4 separate regions of the Homo sapiens genome follow, and regions 1, 2 and 3 are each linked to region 4. Evidence: promoter capture Hi-C in 16 types of primary human blood cells and fetal thymus (Javierre and others, 2016). All regions are on one chromosome and are shown on one strand. Each heading gives the region's core, a stretch centred on a gene start or on the middle of the fragment in contact. The rest is flanking DNA. Distances are from core to core; before and after follow the strand shown.

Region 1 (3,520 bases), core at 526-3,025, 430 kb before region 4:
TTTGTATTTTTAGTAGAGATGGGGTTTCGCCATGTTGGCTAGGCTGGTCTTGAACTCCTGACCTCAAGTGATCTGCCCACCTCAGCCTCCCAAAGTGCTGGGATTACAGGTGTGAGCCACCGTGCTTGGCCCACTCATTCTCAAAACTTTATAAGATCTAGACAGCAAGCCAATGAGAAATTAGGCATTTCCCTACCTTCCCTCAGCACACTGGTAGTGAAAGAACCCCACCTTCCTGGATCGAAACAGTTAAATGGGCATTCTAGTAAGGAACTGCAGCAACTAAAATGTAAAGGATTTTATTCCCACTTTTCATCACAGTAGCCCCCATCACCTGAGCCTCTAATGTGTGCCAATGCTGTGGTAAGCACTTCATGTAACGCTCTCTAATCCTTATGACAACCTTGCAAAGGGGGCTAATAGTGTCCTTGTATTAGCAAGGACTAATCCTATGCCTGTAATCCTAGCACTCTGGGAGGCTGAGGTGGGAGGATCGCTTGAGCCCAAGAGATCCAGACCAGCTTAGGCAACACGGTGAAACCCCATCTCTATAAAAAATTAGCCAGGTGTGGTGGTGCACGCCTGTAATTCCAGCTACTTGGGAGACTGGGGTGGGAGGATCACCTGAGCCGGGGAGGTCTGGGCTGCAGTGAGCTGAGACTGCACCACTGCACTCCAGCCTGGATGACACAGTGAGACCCTGTCTTAAAAAAAAAAAAAAAAAAAAAAAACTAAGGTATCAAGAGGTAGCTACCTGCTGAAGCCATACAACTAAGAAGGAATAACTGTGGATCAAAATCCAACACACTTTCCTTTACATGATACTGCCTCCATAAAAAATATTCTGTTATCAGGTGCATCACTAAGTAATTGTGTAAACTGAGACTTGCCATTTAAACCGTGGGAGGAAGAGTGTGTGAGATATACACTTCAGAAAATTCACTGTCAAATTCTATGGGATGTGATATTGACATAGTTTAGAGTAAAAATTTGGGCTTTTTTTGGAAACACACTCTCACTCTGTCACCCAGGCTGGAGTGCAGTGGTGGGATCTCAGGTCACTGCAACCTCTGCCTCCTGAGTTCAAGCCACTCTCCCGCCCGCCTCAGCCTGCTGAGTAGCTGAGATTATAGGCGCCCACTACCACGCCTGGCTAATTTTTGTATTTTTGGTAAAGACGGGGTTTCACCATGCTGACCTGGCTGGTCTCGAAGTCCTGGCTTTAGGCGATCTGCCCCTCTCAGCCTCCCAAAGGACTAGGATTACAGGCGTGGGCCACCGTGCCCGGCCTGGGCTGATTATTTTTATCCTAGCATAGATAGCGGAGAAAGATTGGAATTAAATACAAAATAGAGATGGAAGGAAGCACTGACTCAGGAATAAGTCAGGAATAATTCAGGAATAAATAAGGAATAACTCAGAAATAAGTCAGGAATAACTCAGGAATAAGTCAGGAATAACTCAGGAAAAAGTACCAACTCAAGCTTCCGAGCCTGAATCGGAAGCCCGAGTTACTACCAACTCCTGAGTTAACCTTCCTAAGGCCTGGGTTGGGTGATTTCTAAGCTTCCTTCTGCTCTAACATCCTATCCTGTCATAGGACTTGAAATGATGCACCAACAAAAGGCCACCAAAGCTAGAGTTTTTCATTCAAGTTCTTTGAAGCACATTTCATTCTATATTGTGGCTACTAAGCAGAGCTCCAGCAGAGTGTAGAAGACACAAAAACACATTTTCCACTGGATTATACATCATTTCCTCTTTTTAAACCACAACAGGCATTTAAAACGTAATATTGTTTATTGGGCAGTTCGCAATCTTTTGGTTTTCAGTTTTCCTTAAAAGGATTCAGGAAGACAATTGTGTCCACAGCAGGCAAAGCAAGTGGCAGGCAGCACAGGGCCTGACCCCCCAAACTGACAGGTGTCAACTGCTTCCCTGAGCATTCTGTCTCCACTTCCCTGTCCCTCTGCAGAAAGCTTTTTAAGTCTCAATTTCCCTTTGGAGTCTCATCACTATCTCATCATTTCTCCTTTCTCTTTGCCTCTGTCATTCCTTTTTATGTGCTACATGGTGTGACCTTGTAGCATTAGCTACGCTGAAACTCTGAAAAGTCTGAGTCCCTTATTTAAAATTTTTTTTTGTTTCAAGTTCAAAGTTGTGTTTACTCTTCCCAGCACAATGGAGAAACTGTTACACAGAAAGATTTTGCAATTACTAATGTAATAGGATCAGAGTTTTAGTGCAGTCAGCAAAGACCCATAGCAACAATTCTGGAGGAGAATGGGGAAAATCTCGGGCAGATAAATCCTTCCAGGTTTGTTGGTGACTGTCTCTCCAGTAAGGGAGAAGCAGAAGGTGGCAGCTAACATGTATGGAGGGCCTTCCGTGCCAGGCCCCCTGCATGAGGTTTCACACGTCATGTCATCTAAACCTCACAGCTGCTACAAGGGGAGGCACCTTAACTCCAATGGCAACTATGTGGCTAGGAAGGTTTGGGCAACTTGTCCAAGGTCTCAGAGCTAGTTGGTGAAAAACACTGGGACTTCAGTCCAACTATCTCCTGTCTCCTATTTTTCTTCTCAAGTAAACATTAGTGGGAAGGAGGAACAAAGAGCTTTGAATTCTAATGCAGTCCAATAAGGTATTTCTGGTCATTTAATCAATTCATTTAACATCACCTATTATCCTAAAAAATCAAAATGCTGTAAAGAAAAAATGTTATAAAAACGTAATGAGAATCAGAGAGAAGTATCATTGCATGTGCTACGGGAATAACTGAAGTCCTTCTTACTACAGAAGGCACCAAGCATTTTGTAGACACACACTGAATGGCATGAAAGCTAAAATACTGCATTAATACTACTTCTTAACAAGAGGCTGGACAGACATTTCATATTTACCAATTTCATACAGACAGACATGTTGAATTTCTCTCTGGTCTACTGCAAGTTCCAAAGCAGTGTGGAAAGATGTCAAGGCACTGTTGATTTGACACTAAGGAGAAAAGGAAAACAGAATTACCAGCTAAGATCTGTCGATAACATTACAATCATCATAATTCAAAAGCATCTTTTTCCTTCATAGTTATTTTAAACAGGTTAAGCAATATAGAAGACAGTGGTTTAAAGATTGCTAGGAAAATACTCCAATTTGCCCCCAAACAGCTGTGAAATTAACCTAAGCACAGAGAACCTCTCCTTGCTCAGGTGGTAAGGGCTCAGCTCGCGCCGCCTTCTCCTCCAGCGTTCTCTCCTTTGCTCAGGTGTTAAGGGCTCAGCTCACACCCACCTTCTCCTTCACTCAGGTGGTAAGGGCTCAGCTCGCGCCGCCTTCTCCTCCAGCGTTCTCTCACACTTGTACAGTAGGACGTGTTGGATTTTAATTGTTTGCTAATCTAGCCCCTTGTTACCACACAGGTGTGGAAAGGGAAGGGACCATATTTCATCCCCGTGTGCGCCCAGCCCTGGCCCAGAAGTCTCTCAATCGCTACTGAGTGAATGCACGAAGCCGCTCCATT
Region 2 (3,143 bases), core at 94-2,593, 460 kb before region 4:
GGACACTAAGTGAAATAATGCATCTGAAAGCACTGAATAAACTCTAAATCACATATAAATGGGGAAGGAGTGAATCAGTACCCATTTAAAAAGTGATACAGAAAAGTTTTGAAAATGTGATATCAAATTAAAAATATAAATCTCAAATATCTTTAATTCAGCTTTGATTAAAATTAAATTGGCTATTTCCTAAACTGGGTGGTAAAATACAGGATGTTTTTTCTTTATATGTGTGTGTTATATACTTATGGACTTTTTCATAATTAAAAACTGAGACCAGATGCCTTAAACTTTTATAGTGTTTTTGCAAATGCAAACACTAGGTCAGGCACGATGGCTCATGCGTATAATCCCAGCACTTTGGGAGGCTGAGGCAGGCAGATCACTTGAGGCCAGGAGTTCGAGACCAGCCCAGCCAACATAGTGAAATTCTGTCTCTACTAAAAATACAAAAATAAGCCAGACACAGTGGCACATGCCTGTAATCCCAGGTACTCAGGAAGCTGAGGCAGGAGAATTGCTTGAGCCCGGGAGGTAGAGGTTGCAGTGAGCTGAGATTGTGCCACTGCACTCCAGCTTGGGCAACAAAGCTAGACTCTGTCTTTAAAAAAAAAAAAAAAAAAAGCCAACACTAGATCAACCATTTGGCTTTGTTTGGAATACATGAAAGAATGCTGGCAAATATATACTTACTAGTTACTATACACATATAATGTAAATCTATATTGAGTTCATGTCATTATCTGTTTATTAAGAAGGGTAAAAAGCTTTTCTCTAATGTTTTAAGGTTAGCTTTAAATACTTACAACAGTCGCTGACTTGTAACCTTGAGATTATGTCGGTTGTATAAGACAGAATTTCTTCAAGTTGCAAACTAGGTTTGCTAAAGGTTGATCTTTCAACCTTATGAAGATTAACCCACTATGACTTTGGTGATCTGGTTCTACTTAAGCTGACAAAACTATACACACTGAGAATTAGGAACATAACTAAAGGCATTCCTTCTTGTAAAAAAGTTCCTTTTTAAGTATAATAAAATGACTCAAATTGGCTAACTTTAAAATTCATTGCAGAATCCTGATTTTCCATGAAACCAGTAAGATAAAGAGATAAATTCCAAGCATATGGTATTTTTTTAAATAGGCACAACTCATGGAGATTCAGGGTACTGAAGTACATAACTGCCCAAGAAGCATAAGGAAAAGGACATATTCTGGCATGGAATGGGAAATCTGAAAGGTATCAAAGACCACAAGTGTATAAGCAGCAGGGCCTAACAAGAGATACGAGAGGCTGTATAAGAATTGGAGGTGGGCCATCCTGGCTAACACGGTGAAACCCTGTCTCTACTAAAAATACAAAAAATTAGCCGGGCGTGGTGGCGGGCGCCTGTAGTCCCAGCTATTCGGGAGGCTGAGGCAGGAGAATGGCGTGAACCCGGGAGGCGGAGCTTGCAGTGAGCTGAGATCTCACTACTGCACTCCAGCCTGGGGCCAGAGTGAGACTCCGTCTCAAAAAAAAAAAAAAACAAAAAACAAAAAAACAAAAAAACTGGAGGTGGGAGGTGGGAAGCTCAAAGAGAGTGCTTAAAGTCAGGAATATGTATGGTACGTAATCTTTTAAGAATTTAAAACAAAAGATTCCAACTAGTCTGTATTGAACTGATTGGAATGAGAATACCAGAGACTATAAAGTAGGTGGTTTAGTTTCTCCCCTCTTCCTCCTTGCCCTTCCATCCATTCTTTCTTCATTCAACAAACATTAGTTGCACCATCTATCAAAGAGGAATAAGACTTCCTAAAGATCTCATTCTGATTAAGGATACAGGCAGATGATTGATTATATGACAATGTAGTCAGCACAGTGACTGAAATATGTATGGGGTACAGTGGCTTTTAGGTAATTTTGGTTAAGCTTTAGAAATAAGGAAAACGTGTGAAAGTGGCTAGTAATTTGGACTGTAGGAGGTGGAAAGCAAAAGAGGGCATGGCCAGTTTGAGGGAGAACAGCCATTCAGCCTATCCTAGGTAATCTCTCCCACGCCATGCCCCTTTGCCTTGCTTCTCCTCTTGGTTCTCCAGCACTGCCATCAAACTTCTCTGGGCCACAGTGAGCAACACCAAATGCAGTTTGGCATCTCTTTGGCTTTGTCCTTCCCTCTTCTCTTCCGGGTCTATTTCTGTCTCCCTCACCCCATTGAGAAGTGACAGCGTGCTGCAGTCCTCAGAGCCCTTGCTCGCTCTTGGCGCCTCCTCTGCCTGGGCTCCCACTTTGGCGGCACTTGAGCCCTTCAGCCCACCGCTGCACTGTGGGAGCCCCTTTCTGGGCTGGCCAAGGCCAGAGCCGGCTCCCTCAGCTTGCAGGCAGGTGTGGAGGGAGAGGCGCCAGCGGGAACCGGGGCTGCGCGCCGCGCTTGCGGGCCAGCTGGAGTTCCGAGTGGGCATGGGCTTGGCGGGCCCCGCATTCCGAGCAGCGGGCCGGCCCTGCCAGCCCCGGGCAATGAGGGGCTTAGCACCCAGGCCAGTGGCTGCATAGGGTGTACTGGGTCCCCCAGCAGTGCCAGCCCACCGGCGCTGTGCTTGATTTCTCGCCGGGCCTTAGCTGCCTTCCTGCGGGGCAGGGCTCGGGACCTGCAGCCCGCCATGCCTGAGCCTCCCACCCACTCCGTGGACTCCTGTGCGGCCCGAGCCTCCCCGATGAGCACCGCCCCCTGCTCCACAGCACCCAGTCCCATCGACCACCCAAGGGCTGAGGAGTGCAGGCGCACGGCACCAGGACTGGCAGGCAGCTCCACCTGCAGTCCCCAGTGCAGGATCCACTGGGTGAAGCCAGCTGGACTCCTGAGTCTGGTGGGGACGTGGAGAACCTTTATGTCTAGCCCAGGGATTGTAAGTACACCAATCGGCACTCTCTATCTAGCTCAAGGTTTGTAAACACCAATCAGCACCCTGTGTCTAGCTCAGGGTCTGTGAATGCACCAATCAACACTCTGTATCTAGATACTCTGGTGGGGCCGTAGAGAACCTTTATGTCTAGCTCAGGGATTGTAAATACACCAATCGGCACTCTGTATCTAGCTCAAGGTTTGTAAACGCACCAATCAGCACCCTGTGTCTAGCTCAGGGTTTGTGAATGCACCAATC
Region 3 (3,408 bases), core at 77-2,576, 400 kb before region 4:
GGTCTAGAACCAAACCCGCAATGTCTCTGATGTATGCCTGTATATCTTAGTTGAAAGTCATCAAACTTGGTTTAATCAGTAGCTTATATCCGAAGAAAAAGAGATTGTATAAAATCATACAGAAAATGCACACTCTCAATACTTTTTTTTTTTTTTTTGAGACAGAGTCTCACTCTGTCACCCAGGCTGGAGTGCAGTGGCACGATCTAGGCTCACTGCAACCTCTGCCTCCTGGGTTCACGCCATTCTCCTGCCTCAGCCTCCCAAGTAGCTGGGACTACAGGCGCCCGCCACCACGCCCAGCTAGTTTTTTGTATTTGTAGTAGAGACGGGGTTTCACCATGTTAGCCAGGATGGTCTCGATCTCCTGACCTCGTGATCTGCCCGCCTCGGCCTCCCAAAGTGCTGGGATTATAGGCGTGAGCCACTGCACCCGGCCAATACTTTTATAAAACATCTTTATTGAGATAAAATTCAAAAATCACAAAATTCACCCACTTAAAGTGTACAATTTAATAAGTCTTTAGAATACTCATAGAGTAATATTATAGCTATGCAACTACTACTACAATCTAAGTTTAAAATATACATATTTTTGAAACAGGGTCTCGTGCCTTCACGGCTCACTACAGGCTCAACATCCTGGGCTCAGATGATCCTCCCACCTCAGCCTTCCAAAGAGCTGGGACTACAGCTGTGCGCCCAGCTAATTTTTTGTAGAAATGGGGTTTCGCCACATTGCCAGGCTTGTATCAAACTTCTGGGCTCAACTGGTCCACTCACCTCAGCTTCCCAAAGTGCTGAGATTACAGGTGTGAGCCATTGTGCTCTGCCTGAAATATTTTCATTCCCCCAAAGAAACTATGTACCATGTATCCATTAGCAGTCACTCCACACTGTTCCCTCACCTACCTCCACACTGAAGCAAGCAATAATCTATTTTCTGCCTCTGTAGATGTACCCGTCCTAAAGATGTCATATAAATGGAATCATATAGTATATGGTCTTTGTGACTGACTTTTTACACATAACATGTTTTCAAGGTTCCTCCATGCTATAGTATGTATCTGTACTTCATTCCTTTCTATTGCTGAATAATATTCCATTGTATGAATGTATCACATGTTGTTTATCCATTCATCAGTTGATAGACATCTGAGCTGTTGCCACTTTTTGGCTATTATGGATAATAATATGGAGTGGTGTTTTTATTTCTCTTGTGCATATTCCTAGGAGTGAAATTGCTGTTTCATATAGTTTGACATTTTGAGGAACTGTTGAACTGGGTCCAGAGCAGCCACACCATTTCACATTCTCACTGGCAATGAATGAGGGTTCCAATCACTCTGCATCCTGCCCACACTTGCTATTGGCTGTCTTGCCTACTGTAGTTAGCTTGGTGGGTGTGAAACAGTAGCTTACTTGGTTTTGATTTGTTTCCTTAGTGATTTATGATACTGCCTATCTTCCTTGGAGAAATGTTTCTTCAGATCCGTTGTCTATTATTATTATTTTTTTTTTTTTTTTTTTTTTTTTTTTTTTTTGAGACTGAGTCTCACTCTGTCACCCAGGCTGGAGTGCAGTGATGCGATCTTGGTTCACTGCAAGCTCCGCCTTCAAGGTTCACACCATTCTCCTGCCTCAGCCTCCCGAGTAGCTGGGACTACAGGCGCCCGCTACCACACCTGGCTAATTTTTTGCATTTTTTTTTAGTAGAGACAGGGTTTCATCATGTTAGCCAGGATGGTCTCGATCTCCTGACCTCGTGATCTGTCCGCCTTGGCTTCCCAAAGTGCTGGGATTACAGGCGTGAGCCACCGCGCCTGCCCCCATTGTCCATTTTTAAATTGGCTTGTCTTTTTATTATTGAGTTGTAACAGTTCTTTACATATTCAGAATACAAGTCCCGTATCAGATATATAACTTGCAAATATTTTCTCCCATTCTATGGGTTGTCTTTTCACTTTCTTGATTGTATTGTTTATAGCGCAAATGTTTCATTTTGATGTAGTTCAATTTATTTATTCTTTTGTCATTGTGCTTTTAGTGTCATGTCTAGGAAACCAAGGCCTAACCCAAGGGTTCTACAGTTTTAGATCTTACATTTAGGTCTATGATCCGCTTTGAGTTAATTTTCTTGTATAGTATAAGGGTCCAACTTCATTCTTTTGCATCTGTGAATACTCAGTTGTCCCAGCACATGGTCTGGCTTTGTCACCCAGGCTGGAGTGCAGTGGCATGATCTCTGATTACTGCAACCTCCATCCCCCGGGCTCAAGCCATCCTACCACCTCAGCCTCCTGAATAGCTGGGCCTACAGATGTGCACTACCACACCTGGCTAATTTTTGTAGAGATGGGGTTTCAACACAGCCCATGATGGTCTCAAACTTGTGAGCTCAAGCAATCTGCCTGCCCTGGCCTCCCAGAGTGCTGGGATTATAGGCATTGAGCTACTGTGCCTGGCTGAAAAGACTATTCTTTGCCCACTGACGTGTCTTGATGTCCATGTCAAAGCAAATTGATCATAAGGCCGGGCGTGGCGGCTTACGCCTGTAATCCCAGCACTTCGGGAGGCCGAGGCGGACAGAGAACCTGAGGTCAGGAGTTCGAAAACAGCCTGGCCAACGTGGTGAAACCCCATCTCCGCTAAAAATACAAAAATTAGCCAGGCATGGTGGCGCACACCTGTAGTCTCAGCTACTTGGTAGGCTGAGGCATGAGAATCGCTTGAACCTGGGAGGTGGAGGTTGCAGTGAGCTGAGATCATGCCACTGCACTCCAGCCTGGGTGACAGAGCAAGACTCTGTCTCCAAAAAAAAAAAAAAAAAAAAAAAAAAGTAAATTAATCATAAATGTAAGATTTATTTCACAATTCTCACTGATCCATATGTCTATTCTTATGCTCGTACCACACTGTCTTGATTACTTTGTAGTAAGTTTTGAGAGTAGGAAGTGGAGTTTTCTTTTTCCACTTTCCATTTTTTCCTTCTTTCTCAATATTATTTTGGCTATTTTGGGGCCCTTGAGTTTAGGATCAGTTTGTTAATCTCTGCAAAAAAAAATAAAATGCTGTGATTGTGACAGACACTGCATTCAATCTGTAGCTCAATTAGGAAAGTACTGCCATCTTAACAATACTGAGAGTTCTGATACAAAACATGGATATCTTTTCAGCAGTATTTTTAAAAATGTTAAACTGCTTTAATTTGTATCATTATGGAAATAAAAATAGGCAAACAAAACTATGGGGTAGAGTAGATACCATGCATAAAATAATGAATAATTATATTCTGGCCCCCTATTTCTTGAGAATTTCTCATCATTTAAGAGCTACACAGAGCTGTTTATAGACCTTGATTTTAGCAATGCTACCACTGGAGCTATAATCTAATAAGGAGCTAAAAAT
Region 4 (3,185 bases), core at 309-2,808:
CCTTTGGGAGGTCAAGACAGAAGGACAGCTTGAGGCTAAGAGTTTGAGACCAGCTTGGGCAAAATAGCCAGACTCTGTCTCTACAGAAAAATAAATAAATAAATAAATAAATAAATAAATAAATAAATAAATAAATAATTGCCAGGCCTGAGGTTGCAGTGAGCCGAGATCGCACCATTGCATTTCAGCCCCGGCGACAGTGCGAGACTCTGTCTCAAAAAAAAAAAAAAAAAATTGCCAGGCACGGGGGGGCACGCCTGTAGTCCCAGCTACGCCCAAGGCTGAGGCGGGAGGATCCCTTGAGCCCAGGAGTTCGAGGCTGCCGTGAGCCGTGATCGCACCACTGCACTCTTGCCTGGCTGAGACCTGTGAGTAAGGGCCAGGCACTGCAAGATGCTGCTTAACATGCACCGCAATGTCGTTTGCCCCGGGTGTTCGCGGTGAGGCTCGGATCTCTGAGAGCCTTTCTATCTCTGTCCGCCTAAGGTCTCATTCGCCCCCAATGACTGGATGGTGGCACTTCAGGCAGTGCAGTGAAGTGAATCTTTTCAGTAACATTAGAGTGATACCGCTGTTATAACCTAAAAATTCTCTCTTAAAATACACCACAGAAGGTAATTGCCACCGACTTCTCCGAATAAGGCCCGGGAGGTGGGGCAGGAGGCGCCCCTGAACCCTCGAGGACTCAAGCCTGGCGGGACGCTCCGTGGGTGACGGAGGCGGGAAGGGCCGAGGCGCCTGCATCTCTTAGAGCGCAGCCTCACACTTTCCCCTCCACCAGCCCGAACCTGACCACAGCCTCATGTCACCTCGCGTGCTCCCCCTCCTCGCCTCGGGCCGGTGGTGCCGGTGCGGTGCTTCCACGAGATCGCTCCTGGGTCGTGGGCCCTCGCGCGCGGGGATGGGGGCTGCCCTTCCCAGTCGCCCGGAGCCACTAGCGCGCGTGAGGAAAGGGCCCGATCCCTTCTCCGGGTGTCTGGCCGGCGCGGGAAGGAAAAGGCGCGCCCACCCCGGCTCTCTCCGAGGCCCTCACCTGGATGGTGTGGCCGCTGCCTGGGGCGGTGGGGCCCCCGACCAACTTGCAGTAGAGCTCGGGCTGGGGCCTCCCCTCGCCGGGTCCCCTCTCCCCGCAGGTGGCGGTGGCCCAAATCCTCGCCGCCTCGGCCAGGTTGAAGTAAGTCGGGTGAAGGCTGAGCCCGGCCGCGGCCCCGGGATCCCGAGCGGTCGCCCCGCAGGCTGGCAGCACCCGCAGTACCAGCAGGAGCAGCGGCGTCGGCGGCAGTACTGGCCCCAGTGCCCGACCCCGAGGCCGCGCGGCCGCCGCCATCCAGCCGCGCGGGGTCCTCCCGCCTGAGCCGTCCGCAGAGGGGCTCGGGGGCACCGCCGCTCTCCGCCTGCGCCTCCCGGACCTGCAGCGCCAGGACTAGCGCAGCCGGGGATATGGGCGGCGCCGGGGCCGCTCCCCTTGCTCCACGCGCTGGAAGCCCGCGGCGTGGGGGTGGCCTCTCAGCTCTGGAACCTGCCGCGGCTGGAGCGGGCACCAGCCGGATCAGGAACTGACAGCGCTCAGCCGCGCGCCAGCAGACGGCGTCTCTCCCGCGCGAGGCGCGCTGCAAACTTCGCGGGCGGGGAATGGGAGAGGCGTTCCCGGGCTCCCACCCAGGCGGCGGGAACGGGAGCCTGGGATCTTCGAACCCTCCAGGCGCCAGGACAGAAATTAATTAGATCGTTCTCCTCTCTGGATACTCACCGCTCAGGTCAAAGCCAGAAAAGCCACCTGTGACCTAAGAGTAAAGGAGGCTTGTAAACGAATTTGGTTGAGAGCAGAGGAAACTGCCACTACCTACAGAACTCACATCAAAGACATTTCGATTTCCCAGCCAAGTGTTGAGTCGTCAACTCCTCAACACTGTGCACCTAGGATCCCTGTGGCACTGCAGCCACAGGCTGAGCCAGGGAACTGGGAGTGGTGGAACGTACATATTTAAAAGACAGCCAATAATGCAAGTTGTAATTTGCCAACCTGGAAAGGAACCTTAGAGGAAATCCTTTAGATGCCTAATCTGCTCAATTTTACAAATAAGCTAACAGAGATTGAGTGAGGTACGCCACCTGCCATGATGGCCTCAGAACAGAGAAGACCCCCTCCCCCCACGACCCCGGACTGATGCTTGGTCTTATATGCAGAACACCCTACTAAAACAGAACCCACATAGGCCCTCGAAGAAATTAGAGGAATGCAATATTTGTACAATAAAAATTGCAAAACCTCTTTGAAAGAAATGTTAAAAGACCTAAATGAGTGGAAAAGCCTCCCATGTTCATGGATTAGGAGACAATATTGTGAAGATGGCAATATTTCCTAAAGCAACCTACAATTCAACACAATGGATTTTGATAGGGATCAAAATCCCGACTTTTTTTTTTTTCAGAAATTGACAAGCTGATCCTAAAATTCATGTGGAAATGCAAGAGACCTAGAAAATCCAAAACGATTCTGAGAAAGAATGAAGTCAGTGGACTCACGCTTCCTAGTTTTAAAACTTAATACAAAACTACAGTAATCAAGACAGTGTAGTACCGACATAACGATAAACATAGATCAATGGAATAGAATTGAGAGCTCAGAAATAAACCGTTACATTTATGGTCACTGGATTTTCAACAGGGTGCCAAGACTATTCAATGGGAAAAGAATAATATTTTTAATAAACGCTGCTGGGAAAACTGGACATCCCAAAATAATCTAGTAGGATCCCCACCTCATACTATATGCAAAAATTAACTCAAAATGGATTTAAGATCTCTAAATTTTACATTTAGAGAGCTAAACTATAAAGCTAAAACTATAAAATTCTAAGGGAAAAACACAGGAGAAAATCTTCATGACTTTGGATTAGCAATGCTGTCTTAGCTATGATATCAAAAGCGCAAGCAACAAAAGAAAAATATAAATTGGGCCGGGCACGGTGGCTCATGCCTGTAATCCTAGTACTTTGGGAGGCCGAGGTGGGTGGATCACCTGAGGTCAGGAGTTCAAGACTAGCCTGGGGAAAATGGTGAAACCCTGTATCTACTAAAAATACAAAACTTAGCCAGGCATGGTGGCATGTGCCTGTAATCCCAGCTACTCCAGAGGCCAAGGCAGGAGAATCACTTGAACCCGGGAAGCGGAGGTTGCAGTG

Evidence for each region. Contacts are between HindIII fragments. The CHiCAGO score rates a contact against its expected background, and 5 or more counts as called.
Region 1: a fragment that was not itself captured here is called in contact with the fragment with the promoter of LAMA3 in region 4 in 1 of 17 cell types (naive CD4 T cells); the score reaches 6.6 in naive CD4 T cells.
Region 2: a fragment that was not itself captured here is called in contact with the fragment with the promoter of LAMA3 in region 4 in 2 of 17 cell types (activated CD4 T cells and total CD4 T cells); the score reaches 5.4 in activated CD4 T cells.
Region 3: a fragment that was not itself captured here is called in contact with the fragment with the promoter of LAMA3 in region 4 in 1 of 17 cell types (naive CD8 T cells); the score reaches 5.3 in naive CD8 T cells.

What each region holds. Positions count from the first base shown.
Region 1 is chr18:24,114,031-24,117,550 of GRCh38, reverse strand. It overlaps TTC39C (tetratricopeptide repeat domain 39C), which reads right to left. Exons shown (of 14, transcript NM_001135993.2): 7 at 2,904-2,997. Among named protein-coding and RNA genes, the nearest start is that of CABYR, 23 kb to the left of the region's middle. The HindIII fragment of the contact is 413 bases long and covers 1,569-1,981 here.
Region 2 is chr18:24,149,169-24,152,311 of GRCh38, reverse strand. All of the region lies in intron 3 of CABYR (calcium binding tyrosine phosphorylation regulated), which reads right to left. Among named protein-coding and RNA genes, the nearest start is that of CABYR, 12 kb to the right of the region's middle. The HindIII fragment of the contact is 1,147 bases long and covers 770-1,916 here.
Region 3 is chr18:24,090,229-24,093,636 of GRCh38, reverse strand. The region is part of intron 6 of TTC39C (tetratricopeptide repeat domain 39C); the gene reads right to left. Among named protein-coding and RNA genes, the nearest start is that of CABYR, 47 kb to the left of the region's middle. The HindIII fragment of the contact is 5,261 bases long and covers 1-3,408 here.
Region 4 is chr18:23,687,826-23,691,010 of GRCh38, reverse strand. It overlaps LAMA3 (laminin subunit alpha 3), which reads right to left and starts at 1,558. Exons shown (of 75, transcript NM_198129.4): 1 at 1,034-1,558. The coding sequence starts at 1,327. RefSeq lists an enhancer at 1,650-2,199. The HindIII fragment of the contact is 9,125 bases long and covers 1-3,185 here.